Regions from separate parts of the Homo sapiens genome. Here region 2 is linked to region 1. The links are contacts of gene promoters, found by promoter capture Hi-C in blood cells and fetal thymus (Javierre and others, 2016). All regions are on one chromosome and are shown on one strand. The core of a region is centred on a gene start or on the middle of the fragment in contact, and the rest is flanking DNA. Distances in the headings are between cores, read along the strand shown. Region 1 holds the start of RAMAC (RNA guanine-7 methyltransferase activating subunit). Region 2 holds the start of AP3B2 (adaptor related protein complex 3 subunit beta 2).

Region 1 (7,035 bases), core at 1,165-3,664:
TTCGGTGATCCTCCTGCCTTGGCTTCCCAAAGTGCTGGGATTACAGGCATGAGCCACTGTGCCTGGCCCGAATTATTTTTCTTACTTTATTAACTTCCAATAAAAGGTTTGGGACAAAAAGATGTGACAATGGAAGCTATTGTGATAACTTCTTCATTAGTCTGCCTTTCCTCCAAACATATGCAAATATTTGTAACATTTATACTACCTACTTTAACCCCAACAAAATTAAACGGAAATTATTGTTGCATTGCAAGAAACAATATGTAGATTTTTTCTTTTTCCTTTTCCCCCAGACGGAGTCTTGCTCTGTCACCCAGAGTTGGAGTGCAATGGCGCGATCTCAGCACACTGCAACCTCTGCCTCCCAGGTTCAAGCAATTCTCCTGCCTCAGCCTCCCAAGTAGCTGGGATTACAGGCACGCGCCACCACACCCAGCTAATTTTTGCATTTTTAGTAGAGATGGGGTTTTGTTGGCCAGGCGGGTCTTGAACTCCTGACCTCATAATCCGCCCGCTTTGGCCTCCCAAAGTCCTGGGATTACAGGTATGAGCCACTGCGCCCAGCCTTTTTTTTTTTTTTTTTTTGAGACGGAGTTTCACTCTTGTTGCCCAGGCTAGAGTGCAATGGCGCGATCTCGGCTCACTGCAATCTCTGCCTCTCGAATTCAAGTGATTCTCCTGTCTCTGCCTCCCGAATAGCTGGGATTACAGGTGCACGCCCGCTCGCTAATTTTTGTATTTTTAGTAGAGACAGGGTTTCATCATGTTGGCCAGGCTGATCTTGAACTCCTGACCTCAGGTGATCTGCCTGCCTCAGCCTCCCAAAGTACTGGGATAACAGGCATAAGCCACCGCGCCCAGCCTGACACTCTTATCTTTCAGGCTATTGCTCTTAGTATGCTTTATCAAATACCAAATATCAGACTTTCAATGTGTCTGGGATTGGCAAACTATATCAAATTCTCAAATCCAAGGAATGAGTTTTAAATAAATTCAGCTAATTAAAAATCATGTCTAGAATTCTAGTGGGATCACAGAAATCACTAAAAAGATGACCCATACCTAATCCAGATGGGCAGTAAAAATCATAAGGCAAGGAAAAGGTGCTACTCCATTTTTATGTTCTCATATGTTCTCCCACGACTCCCCACCCATACTCATGTAAACAAATATCAACTGTATTATTACTGAGAACGAAATTTAAATAGAATGTTAATCGACCCAAGCTTTACTTACCCCAAAGGTTTGAGGCAGCTGTACTGCTTAATGTTTAGGTTGTTTAAATCTGTGGGAGGAAAAAAACAAACTTGACTTTATTTAAGGAAACTCTCAAAAGGTGTTTGTAGGGGAGGGTGGCGCATAAGAGTCTTATTCAAGGAAAGAATTGGAGTAAAAGTGCTCTAAGGCCAGGCGCGGTGGCTCACCTCTGTAATCCCAACACTTTGGGAGGCCGAGGCGGGCAGATCACGAAGTCAAGAGATCGAGACCAGCCTGGCTAACACGGTGAAACCTCGTCTCTCCTAAAAATAGAAAAAATTAGCCAGGCGTGGTGGCATGTGCCTGTAGTCCCAGCTACTCGGGAGGCTGAGGCAGGAGAATCGCTTGAACTTGGGAGGCGGAGATCGCGCCACTGCACTCCAGCCTGGGCGACAGAGCGAGACTCCGTCTCAAAAAAAAAACAAAAAACAAACCAAAAAAACGCTCTAAAGACTTCCAAAGCTAATATTCCAAAGAGGGAACTGGTTCTCAAGAGCAAGAAGCTACAAGATTTGTCCTCTGGGCCTTCAAAAGCAAAATAGTTCAAGTATGAATACAAACTTCATAAAGTATGTATGTTCTTTTAGGGTAAGCCTTTCAGATTTGTACTTGAATACTGCTAATTTATTCACCACAAATAAAACCACAAAGAACTTTGGCTGCGGGCGACTAACCCTGGAAATAACCAACCAGAATGGGGTTTCGCTGCCCTGGGAGGTGAGCCCGGGGAACAGACGAAGATGCAGACTGAAAACAACTGCGTTTTCCAGTCCGTCCTCAAGGCACATCACAGCTTGCTTACCAAGGTTCTGGCAGATTTGCTCCCTTCCGAAGCACCTTATACCTCCAGAAGTGAGGGAAATTATGGGCCGTGAGAAGTAAACGGGCTTCGGTCTAGCAAAGAGTACAGATCACCGCACAGGGGGAGGACACCTCGCTGGCCACCCAGCTCGGCCGCCCCGCTCCCTCCTCCCGGGCGTCCGGGGCGACTCACCCGCCAAGGGCTATGTCAATCCAGCTCAGGCCGAACCCCGCCGGCGAGACACTGAGAAGCCCAGGAGAGGTGGCCTCTGGTCCACTACACCGTGGAACTCCAGACCACTCCAGTTCTCCAATGTAACCGAGCGCCTTCCTCTAAAATCCGACAACCACCTGACTTCCGCTTCCGGCGGGCTAAAGTTGAGGGTGCCTGTCAAGTCTCGCGATAACTAAGGCTCTCCGTGTGGATCGCTTTGCAACAGATCGCTTCTTCAAATGCTGGCACAACGCCCAGAGCTCGATGAGGTGTGGGCAAGTAGCTGTCTAAAGGTGGATGATGCCCTCCATGCACTTTCAGCCTGCCTGGTGGCTGGGCAGTCGAAAACGTCGCCGTCTATTAAGCTCCTTTGATTGGGAGCAGGTGACGGGTAGAGACGGAAGTTCTGGGAATCACCGGAGAAGGGAGGGAAGGGCTCCTTCCGGCCGCCTGCTCCCGGAGTCTTCGTGGGGAACGTGAGGTGAGAGCAGGCGGTGAAGAGTAGACACGACTGATGACTTCAGGGATGCTACACCTTTCTCTCCTGCCTGGGCAAGCCTCGGTAGTAAGATTTCCGTAGTCCGTTTTGTATGTGGTTTTGCAGAAACATACCCCCTCTCTGCTCCAGCTTCAGTCGTCAGTATCCAGCTACTTCCAAGAGTCTTGCCCATGTCTTGTGGGATGTTCAGCAAATGTATAAACACTTAATATCCCGACAAAGCTTGGCCTCTTCCCTCCCAAATTACTTCCCAGGCTATGCACCCGTTTTTGTTAATACAACCAACTTGGAAACTTTGATGTCAGATTTGATGCCCTTTCTTGCCTTTCCATGCTCCAATCACTTGCCAAGTCCTGTCGATTGTACCCCTACAGTAATTCTTGCATCTTCTTACCCACTGCCCCCACCTAATCAACGTTCTCATTACCATCCCCTGCACGGTGTCAGTGCAGTACCTTTCTCATTGATGTCCTGCCTCTAGCATCACTCTGCTACTAGCCTATCTTACATATACCTGCTATAGGTGTAGCCATCTTCAAGCACCACCGTGATCCAAAATAGCTGATCCAATGGCTCTCTGTTGCCTGTAGATTAAAGGTCAAGTTTATTAACTTGGATTCAAAACTTTTTTTATTTTCTGCTGTTCCCCTTCCATTCTCCCTCAGTCAGTGGTAAACCAGACCCTGTGAAGTACGTCATGCATAAATTATTACATTTTTATAGATTGCTCATGTCCCTTGCATGAAATACCTGTCTCTCCCCCTCATCTCCAAATGTTGAAATTCTTTCCATTATTTAAAGCTTTAGAAAGTGACATCTCTACCTAGAAATAATTTTTCTTTCTATTGAGAGTCCATCATATTTCTGGAATTTCATGTATTTAGTTATTACCACTTTCTAACTTCGAACTAAAATTATTTACTTGCAAGTCTTTCCCCCTATTAAACTGTAAACAGGCCTTTATCTAATGCATTTCTACATTCTGGAGTGTATAACATTGTGCTTTTTTTGTTTGTTTGTTTGTTTGTTTCTTTGACACAGGGTCTCATTCTGTTGCCCAGGCTGGAGTGCAGTGACGTGGTCATGGCATACTGCAGCCTCGACTTCCTGGGCTCAGGCGATCCTCTCAGCTCAGCCTCCGGAGAGCTGGGACTACAGGTGCACACCACCACCCTGCTAATTTTTTGTATTTTTTGTAGAGATGGAATTTTGCAGTATTGCCCAGTCTGGTCTCGAACTCTGGGCTCAAGCAGTCCACCCACCTCAGCCTCCCAAAGGGCTGGGATTACAGGCCTGAGCCGTGGAGCCCAGCCCCACATTGTGCTTTTTCCATGACGTTAGCACTGAATAAATGTTTGTGGAATGAATGATAGAACTATGAATATTCCAAGTAATGTTTTAGAAACATTAACCTAGCAAAAGTATATAGGATAGTATGGATGAGGGAATAGGATAGTCTTGGTGTTGGGTAGTAAAGGTAAGAGGTGTAACAACCAAGGTTACAATAATTGAATAAAAGGCCGGGTGCGGTGGCTCACGCCTGTAATCCCAGCACTTTGGGAGGTCGAGGCGGGTGGATCATGAGGTCAGGAGATCAAGACCATCCTGGCTAACACGGTGAAACCCTGTCTCTACTAAGTATACATAAAATTAGCTGGGCGTGGTGGCCGGCGCCTGTAGTCCTAGCTACTCGGGAGGCTGAGGCAGGAGAATGGCGTGAACCCAGGAGGCGGAGCTTGCAGTGAGCAGAGATTGCGCCACTGCACTCCAGCCTGGGTGACAGAGCAAGACTCCGTCTCAAAAAAAAAAAAAAATAATAATAATAATTGAATAGTACTATTCTGGAGCTCCAGTAGTGCAATTGGTTAGCGCGCTATAGTGCGCTAAATAGTAAATAGTACTATACTTAGTTACTGAGTGGATTACGAGAGAAAAAGATTGGTAGAAATCAGGGAAGGAGCTGGGTGCGGTGGCTTACTCCTGTAATCCCTGCACTTTGAGAGGCCGAGGCAGGCGGATCACTTGAGGTCAGGAGTTCAAGACCAGCCTGACCAACATGGTGAAATCCTGTCTCTACTAAAAAATCAAAAAAATTAGCCGGGCGTGGTCAGGGGCGCCTGTAATCCCAGCTACTCGGGAAGCTGAGGCAGGGAGGATTGCTTGAACTTGGGAGGCAGAGGTTGCAGTGAGCCGAGATTGCACCACTGCCCTCCAGCCTGGGCGACAGAGTGAGACTCCATCTAAAAAAAAAAAGAAAGAAAAGAAAGAAATCAGGAAAGGCTCCAATTCTTTAAGCCTGGGAAATTGGGGCTGAAAAGGAATATCCATAAGGTAAAGTGGCTTTAAGGGAAAAATGAACTCAGAGCCCAAATACATTTGTAAAATTTGAAACACTGGTGAAATATTCAAGAGAAAATTTCCAGGGAGTTGTTAGAAATACAAGACTAAATCTCAGGAAAGAGAGGCTCTACCCAGATATGTAAATGTGTGAGTAATTCATGAAGAAACAATAGTTGAAATCACTGGTGTACAGTTGCTCCCCGACAGGACTGTTTGACTTAACGATTGTTGTACTTTACAATGGTACCATGTGCATTCAGTGGCAGGGTACTTTGAATACCTATACAAACATTCTGTTTTTCACTTTCCGTACAGTAGTCAATAAATTATATGAGATATTCAACATTTTATTATAAAATAAGCTTTGTGTTAAATGAGCTTGCCCAACTATAGGCTAATGTAAGTGTTCTGAGCATGTTTAAGGTAGGCTAAGCTAAGCTATGATGTTTGGTAGATTAGGTGTACTAACTGCATTTTTGACTTAATGATGTTTTCAACTTGTGATGGGTTTATCTGGACATAACCCCGTCAAAAATCAAGGAGCAGCTGTATATGATCTTTTCAACAGGGAAAGTATTCATAGAGAAGAGAAGGCGACCAAGGCCTATCCCTCAGGAAATACCCATATTTAGGAGACAAGAACAGGAAATAGAAAACTTGAAGAGGGGCAGTGTGACAATTGAAAAACTAAGAAAAATGCTTCCTCACCTAGTATCGGGAATCAAGAAGGATATTTGGAAAAGGGGCTTCTTGTAGGCTAGTTTGGTTGTTTCCTTGTGACTATTATTGACATTATTTGTAAGTATTGAGGACTTACCCAGAAAAGAATATAGAGATTGGGCATCCCTAATCCCCAAATACAAAATACAAAATGTCCCCAAATCCAAAACTTTTTGAGTGCCAACATGACACTCAAAGGAAATGCTCATTGGAGCATTTTGGATTTCAGATTTTCATAGTAGGGATACTCAACTGGTATTTTCTTTCCTGTAAATTTGTGTGTGACACTTAGGGGCCTCTAGGCCTCTGAGAGTTTCTGTGAAGAACTCTAGGTATTCCAGCAGATTTTCAAATTTTCAAATGAAATTTTTTTCTGCCCACCAATGTCTTTTCATTCTCTGATATGTTATCGATTATTATGTCTCATTTTCTGACAACAGGAAATCTGTTTCATGAAGGGGAATTTTCTAGATAACTGACACTTAGACTTTAAGCATCAGAAATTTTTTATTGAAACCATTTTTGATGGAAATGTTTGCAAAATGTGGCTCTTACCTATCTGGTATAACCAGAATATATGGGCCATAATTTAATCTTTGCTGGCAACTAAAAGTCCCTGTTAAAGCATCAGTTATATTCTTCTGGATAGTAATATCCTTGGGCCTGTTGATGTGCATGAGAAAGGTTACATCATGAAATTTATAGTGTTTTTTTCTACTCATTGTAGACATTTTGTTTTACTTAAGCAGATATATTTTTTAAATTGTGGTAAAATATATGTAACATAAAAATTACCATTTTAACCATTTGTAAGTGCACAGGTCATTGACAGTAAGTACATTCACATTGTTGTGCAACTATCACCGCCATCCATCTCGAGATTTTTTCATCTTCTCACACTGAAATTCTGTGCCCATTAAACCATAACTGTATTTTCCTCTCCCCTCTGCCCCTAGCAACCACCATTCTACTTTATCTTTATGAATTTGACTACTCTAGGTACCTCATGCAAGTGAAATACATTATATGCTGTTTTGTGACTGGCTTTACTTAGCATAAGGTCTTCAAGGTTCATCCACATTGTAGCATGTGTCAGAATTTCCTTCCCTTTTAATGAATAATATTGCATTGTATGTTTACACCATATTTTGTTATCCATTCATCTATTAATGGACACTTGAGTTTCTTCCTCCTTTTGGCT
Region 2 (7,035 bases), core at 1,361-3,860, 280 kb after region 1:
TGTAAACCTGTTTCCTTATCCTGAAAATGGGGACATTGTTCCTATCTTGTGATTGTATTAAGGATCAAATGAGCAGCTGCTCAACAGAGGTTTCTGGAGAGGTCCTTCTCCACACAGACTTGGGAGGAGATGCTTGTCCTAGGTCCAAATCTCATCCAGGTTTCCCGATTTTTTCAGGTCTTCTGCTCAACTCAGGTACCAGCTGACACCCACCCAGTCCCTGGTGTTGCCTTCAGGAGCAGTGGCAAGATGGGAGCTGGTTGGGGAAGGGGATCCTAGCGCAGGGGGGAGGAGGAGAGAATGGAATGGCTGGACTTTGAGATGAGAAGACAGTTGGATGGGGAGGAGGCACCATTTGCTGGAACTGAAGGGTTCTCAGTAGGGGCTCGAGGCAGGATGTATCTGTGATATCTGGACCTCTGGAGTCCCTTAAGCACAAGGAGGCAAGTGTGTGGCAGTGAAGACATTCTGCCTTGGGCCCAAGCCCAAGACAGGTCTCCCTGAGCCCTGGGCAGACCATCCGACCTATGGTCATTGGAAGGACCCACCTCCTCCCTATCCCAGGCCTGTGTAAACGCCAGGAAGGCAGGTCCCTTTCTCCATGCAGGCCCTGACTGGGGCAGTCAGCACCATTAAGTTCTTCCTCTCTGAGGCTTTCCTGGGTCAACACTTCGAGGCTGTGTAGTTGGAGGGCAGGGAGCCTGAGCCAGGAGACGTCTTCCTGTTCAGGCTGATTCCCCCCACCTGACGCTGGTGCGGGGCCCACGTTGGCATATACTGTGGCCATGGAGAGATCATCCACTTTGAGGGTGAGTGCCTCCAGCAGAAACACAGGCCCAAGTCTGCGGAGAGGCTGCCCAGCCAAGCCACGCCCCACCAGTGAGCTGGCTACTCGGGGATAAAGACTGAAGTCCCAGGCTGGGGGTACGTTTCTCTGAAAATGGGGTTTGGGCACTCAGGGTCCCTGAGGTCTCAGGAAATGGGGGTGCGGGATCACAGGGCATAGGACCTAAGCCTGGCTCTGATCCGCACCCCTCTGGCGATCCCCGCAGGCAAGAACTCAGGAGGCTGTGGGCTCCTGGGAAGTTTCTGGGCTCCTGGAAAGGCATCGTATCCAAACAGGGGCAGCGCCCGCTGCTGCGCTCCTGCTGGCGCGTGCTGCGCAGAGTGAGCGAAGCGACGGACGCGGACCCACCATCCTATCACTCCATGCGCAGCAACTGTGTGCACTTTGCACTGTGTCTGCTCGTCCCAGGTCCCAGCCTGGACCCCCGGCAAATAGACGGGAGCTCCAGCAGGTCGGTGAGCGTGGCCCAGCTACCTGCACAGGACCCATCCCACCTCCTGAGCAGACTAGCCAAAGCGCCTTATAAACGCGCAACTGCAAAATCCAGGCCCTTCTCTTCCCACTCCCCACCCAGGCCAGTTTTCTCCAAATTCAAGATCCACTTTTCTCTGGCAGGCACAAAGCCACCGGAACCAAGCGGACCCACCCACTTGTCTAGGTTATCCCAACAGAACCTTCTCATTACCCCAATAGAACCTTACCCCAGTAGAATTACCCCCAATAGAACTTTTCTACTGAGCCAAGCTCCACCTTTCTGGGCCCCACTCCTTCCCAGGTAGGCCCGCCAATTCTGCCCATGGAGACTTCGGGATGCTAGTTACAGACCAAGACTCAGGCCTTAGGAACTCCTCCAGTCCCCATGCCCAGCTAAAAGACTCCAGCCACCTCAACTGATGCCCAACTGGATCCTACCTCTTCCCCCAGCCCAATTCACTACTTTCCATCGGATCCAAGCCTTCCTTCCTTGGGCCTAGGGGTCACTCGGGCTCGGGAGCTGAACTGGAGGGCTCACATGACTCAGGAGCCCTGGTGGTCACACCAGACCCTTCTCTTCCTTTTCAGGTGTCAATGGACGTGGACGTGTCCCCGGATTAAGCATGACCTTGGCCCTCCTGGGTGGACGTGGAGGCTTCAGAAAGATTCATTAAACTACTTTCCAAAGCTTAATTAGATGTTCACCGTCCTCTGTATCCTGTTTCCCATCTCTCTAAGCCCCCAAGGGCTCCTCGGAGCTCCCTGACCTTAATTCCTTAAATTCCGCCACCTCCAGGAAGCTCCTCGGCTTCCTGCTGCCAAGCCAGATTTTGTAGGAAAGGTGGGGCGGGAAAGGGAGCGTCCTTAGGTATCTGAGGCCGGTCCTCGGGTGCGGTGACCCCTTCCCGCTCTAGAACCCCCAGCCTGCGGGCACAGCCTTCTTTCCAGTTCCCGCTTTCCCTCCACGGCGTGGGTGAGCATCCGCGCGTGCGTCTGGGGAGAGCGGAGCCCCAGAGGCCCGTCCCGCCGAGGCCAGGTGGTCGGGGGTGGGGGCAGCTATTCCACATCCCCTGCAAGACGGTCCCAGCGTCCGTCCAGCAGACTCGCCCACCTTTAGATCTGGAGACGAGCCAAGTCGCTTTAAAGGGCAGAAGACGCCCTGAAGAGGGCATTTCCTAGGGATGGGCGGGGCCAGGCCCTGACGCACCGCCCCTGTCGCCTCCTCGCGGACACGCCCTCCGCTCGGCTGGCGCCGGTGCCTTTAAGACCTCAGCGCGCGGCCCTGATTGAGAAATCCGCGCGCAGCCTCCGCCGCTGCACACTGCAGCCTCTGCTGAACCCCTGCCGCGCCGCCGCCTTCGCCAGCCCGGACCGGACCGGCCCGCCTTCCCTTCCTCCGCTCCAGCCGGCCTCCGGCCCCGCAACCTCCTCCTCGGCGAAGTCTCCCTGGCCGCCCCATGTCGGCCGCCCCCGCCTACAGCGAAGACAAGGGCGGCTCCGCTGGCCCCGGGGAGCCCGAGTACGGCCACGACCCCGCGAGCGGCGGCATCTTCTCCTCCGACTACAAGCGGTGAGGGAGCCCGCCAGGAAGCTCGCGGGAGGGTTGGGGCCGGGGACCGGGCGAGGCGCGCGGGCACCATGGACAGCGCCCGGCCCCAGCGCCGGCCCCGCCCCGGCCGCGCCGACCGGAAGCCCGCCCGGCCCCCTCCTGCGGCCTGGAGCCCCGGCCCAGCGCGGGCAGCGCTGGCACCCCGGCTCCAGGGGCCGGCCTAGGACGCGGAGGGGGGCAGATAGGGGCTGGCGGGGGATGGGCCAGCTCAGTTTCGAGAGGAGAAACCCTCCGGTTCCAGGTGTTTCTCCGGTTTGCGGCGTTGCGTTAGGGGTTCCCTTCCTTTTTCGTGCTAGGCGGGTTGGCTTCCCAAAAATGTGGGGGAGGGGTCTGAGTCAGCGAACTTGAGCTTGAGCCTGGGGCCTCTTCAGGAAGGCGGGCCCTGGATGTACTTGCACAGCCTCCCAGCTTGGCCCTGCTGCAAATTCATTTCCCCTCCCTCTGGTCCCCATCTCCATCTGACCCTCACATCCCTGCTCCTGGCATTGCCCCTGTAGTTCAGCTCCACCTTCACACCCTCCCCCACCTTTGATTCGTTCGTTTGTTTCTTCATTTGTTTATTCGTAAATTCTGCAACAAGCATTTATGAAAAGCCAACTGTGTCGAGTCCTGAACTAGTCACGGAATACAACTGTGAACATGAGACCCTTCTTGTCCTCACGATGCTCTAGAGGGGAGCACAGATGAAGAAGCAGTCAGGGACAGTCGAGTGTAATGGGGGCAGTGGGAGCAGGGAGAGGACCTAGTCTCTGGCGCCGGAGAGAAGGAAGACAGGAGCGTGAGGTATGTTCCAGGCAGAGGAAAGGGCTTTCAGGAAGGTTGAGAGCCAGGCCACAATCTGTGTGAGCCACTGGACTGACCAGAAAAGAGGGTGGGGAGGACTCCTGAAGGATTCTAAGCAGGCGACATAATCAGATTTATATTTTAGAAGGACGTCAGGCTGCTGCATTGTGGAGAAGAGATTGGAGGTGGGCCAGATTGAACAAGAGACAAGGGAGGTGGGTCTTGAAGTTCACAGGCCTGGCATGATTGTGGCCTAGACCAGGGGAGAGGCAGAAGATTTGAGGCTGTGGAAGAGGTGGAAGCCTCAGACCTGATGATTAATTGGATATTGGGTGGGGGTTTAGAGGGACAGGGGGAGAAGATGAGGATTTTCACGCACGTCCATGTGAAGAGACCACCAAACAGGCTTTGAACAATAAAGCTTTTTAATCACTTGGGTGCAGGCCAGCTGAGTCCGAAAAAAGAGTCAGCGAAGGGAAATGGGGTGGGACCGTTTTACAGGATTTGGGTAGGTAGTGGAAAATTACAGTCAAAGGGGGTTGTTCTCTGGCGGTGGGGGGACACAAGGTGCTCAGTGGGGGAGCTTTTGAGCCAGGATGAGCCAGGAGAAGGAATTTCACAAGATAATGTCATCAGTTAAGGCAGGCACAGGCCATTTTCACTCTTCAGTTACTTCAGGCCATCTGGATGTATACGTGCAGGTCACAGGGGATATCATGGCTTAGCTTGGGCTCAGAGGCCTGACATTCCTGTCTTCTTTTATTAATAAGAAAAATAACATAAAATAGTGTTGAAGTGTTGGGGCAGCAAACATTTTGGCGGGGGGTGGTATGGAGAGATACTGCTTCTCCATAGCCTTGAAGGGCTGCTTCGAGCGGGATTGGGGTGGCGTGGGAACCTAGAGTGGGAGAGATTAAGCTGAAGGCAGATTCTGTGGTAAGGGATGATATTGTGGGGTTGTTAGAAGAAACATTTGTTGTATAGGATTATTGGTGATGGCCTGGATACGGTTTTGTATGAATTGAAAAACTAAATGGAATAAGAGAAGGAGAAAAACAGGTATTAAAGGACTAAGAATTGGGAGGACCCAGGACATCCAATTAGAGAGTGCCCAAGGAGGTTCAGCATAGCCCTGCCAGCAAAGATTATTTATTTACTTTAAGAGGGAGTTAAGACTGGCAGTTTGGGGATAGCACCAGGAGATATCAGCTGTAATGGTTTGGAGAAACAGTGTAAACCGGCAGTGTAAACAAGAGCAGGGCATGTATGAGTAGTTGAGTATGGTGAATAGGAGTATGACTAGTCAGAAGATAGTAGGGATGACAAGTTTTCTGGGGCACAGTCCAAGTTGGTCTGGTGTCTGGAATGAGACTGGGGCCTAATAAAAAGGAGCATCTATACAGGAGCTTGAATGGGCTGTACCCTGCAGCATTCCGAGGACAGGCCCAAATTCTGAGAAGGGCAAGTGGTAAAAGTATTGTCAGTCCTTTTTAAGTTGGTGGCTGAGCTTGGTGAGGTGTGTTTTTAAAAGACCATTAGTCCGTTCTACCTTTTCTGAAGATTGAGGATGGTAAGGGGTATGAAGGTTTCACTGAATACCAGGAGCCTGAGAAACTGCTTGGGTGATTTGACCAGTAAAGGCTGGTCTGTTATTGGACTATATAGAGGCGGGAAGGCCAAACTGAGGAATTATGTCTGACAGAAGGGAAGAAATGACCGCAGTGGCCTTCTCAGACCCTGTGGGAAAGGCCTCTACCCATCCAGTGAAAGTATCTACCCAGACCAAGACGTATTTTAGTTTCCTGACTCGGGGCATGTGAGTAAAGTCAATTTGCCAGTCCTGGGCAGAGGCAAATCCCCAGGCTTGATGTGTAGGGAAGGGAGGGGGCCTGAACAATCCCTGAGGAGTAGTAGAATAGCAGATGGAACACTGAGAAGTGATTTCCTTGAGGATAGATTTCCACAATGGAAAGGAAATGAGAGGTTCTAAGAGGCAGGCTAGCGGCTTGTAACCTACATGGAAGAGGTTATGAAATGACGAAAGAATAGAATGGGCCTGTGAGGCTAGAAGGAGATATTTTCCTTGGTCTGAGAACCATTTGCCTTGTGTGGGAAGAGATTCATAGGTGTAAGTTTCATTGGGGGAGTAGGTAGGAGTGACTGATGAGAAGGAGAAAAACTGGCCATGAGGGACAGAAGTTGGAATGCTAGCTGCTTTTTTAGCTACCTTATCAGCATAAGTGTTGCCCTGAGCGATGGGATCTGATGCCTTTTGATGGCCCTTGCAGTGAATGACTCCAGCTTCCTTTGGAAGTAAAGCGGCCTTGAGAAGAGTTTTTATTAAAGAGGAATTAATGATGGAGGACCCTTGTGTAATGAGGAAAGCTTTTTGCCCATATAACAGCATGGAGGTACAGGATATGGAAGGCATATTTAGAGTCAGTATAAATATTGACACATAGTCCTTTTGCAAGACTGAGGGCTCGAGTTAAGGCAATGAGTTAAGCTTTCTGAGAGGTAGTGGAGGGGGGCAGAAAGTATATGCGTCAGGTGTGAGGAAGAAAATAGATTTTGGAAGTTATGAGAACTGTAGAGAGTGAGTTGAGCATAGTTTGTGATTTTGAGGGCCTCTGAAAGTATTAAAGCAGCGGCAGCCGCTGCACGCAGACATGAGGGCTAGGCCAAAACAGTAAGGTCAAGTTGTTCGGACAGAAAGGCTACAGGGCGTGGTCCCAGCTCTTGTGTAAGAATTCCAACCGCACAGCCCTGCACTTTGGCTGTGTGTGATGAAAAAGGGTTGGGATGAATTAGGGAGACCTAGTGTGAGAGCAGCTTCTACGGCTGTTTTTAAGGAATGGAAAGGAGTGGCAAAAGGATTTAGGATCTGTGGGGTCAGCTAGGTTTGCTTTTGTGAGTTTATATAATGGTTTAGTCAGGATGGTAAAACTAGGTATCCAAAGGTGGAAGTACCTAACCATCCCTTGAAAGGAAAGGAGTTGTTGCTTTGTAGAAGGGATTGGGGTTCGGGAGATTAGCCGGACATGATCAGCAGGGAGAGCACGTGTGTTTTCATGAGAACTATGCCAAGATAGGTAATGGATGAGGAAGAAATTTGGGCTTGACTGAAGTAATGGGGGCTGTCCGTGAAGCCTTGCGGCAGTACAGCCTAGGTAGTTTGCTGAGCCTGATGGGTGTCAGGGACAGTCCAAGTGAAAGCGAAGAGAGGCTGAGATGAAGGGTGCAAATGAATAGTAAAGAAAGCATGTTTGAAATCCAGAAGAGAATGATGGGTTGTGGAGGGGTTGTGGAGGGAGGTATTGAG

What was found. The method cuts DNA at HindIII sites, captures the fragments that hold promoters and counts their contacts. A CHiCAGO score of 5 or more calls a contact.
Region 2: a contact is called between the fragment with the promoter of AP3B2 here and the fragment with the promoter of RAMAC in region 1, in 15 of 17 cell types (fetal thymus, monocytes, total CD8 T cells and 12 more). The highest score is 15.6, in fetal thymus.

What each region holds. Positions count from the first base shown.
Region 1 is chr15:82,981,589-82,988,623 of GRCh38, reverse strand. RAMAC (RNA guanine-7 methyltransferase activating subunit) reads right to left here and starts at 2,414. Exons shown (of 4, transcript NM_031452.4): 1 at 2,255-2,414; 2 at 1,240-1,288. It also overlaps a transcript of HOMER2 not described here. The HindIII fragment of the contact is 1,767 bases long and covers 1,232-2,998 here.
Region 2 is chr15:82,705,450-82,712,484 of GRCh38, reverse strand. AP3B2 (adaptor related protein complex 3 subunit beta 2) reads left to right here and starts at 2,610. Exons shown (of 27, transcript NM_001278512.2): 1 at 2,610-2,891. The coding sequence starts at 2,779. It also overlaps the pseudogene LOC338963. RefSeq lists silencers at 2,557-2,606, 2,827-3,086. The HindIII fragment of the contact is 2,125 bases long and covers 2,012-4,136 here.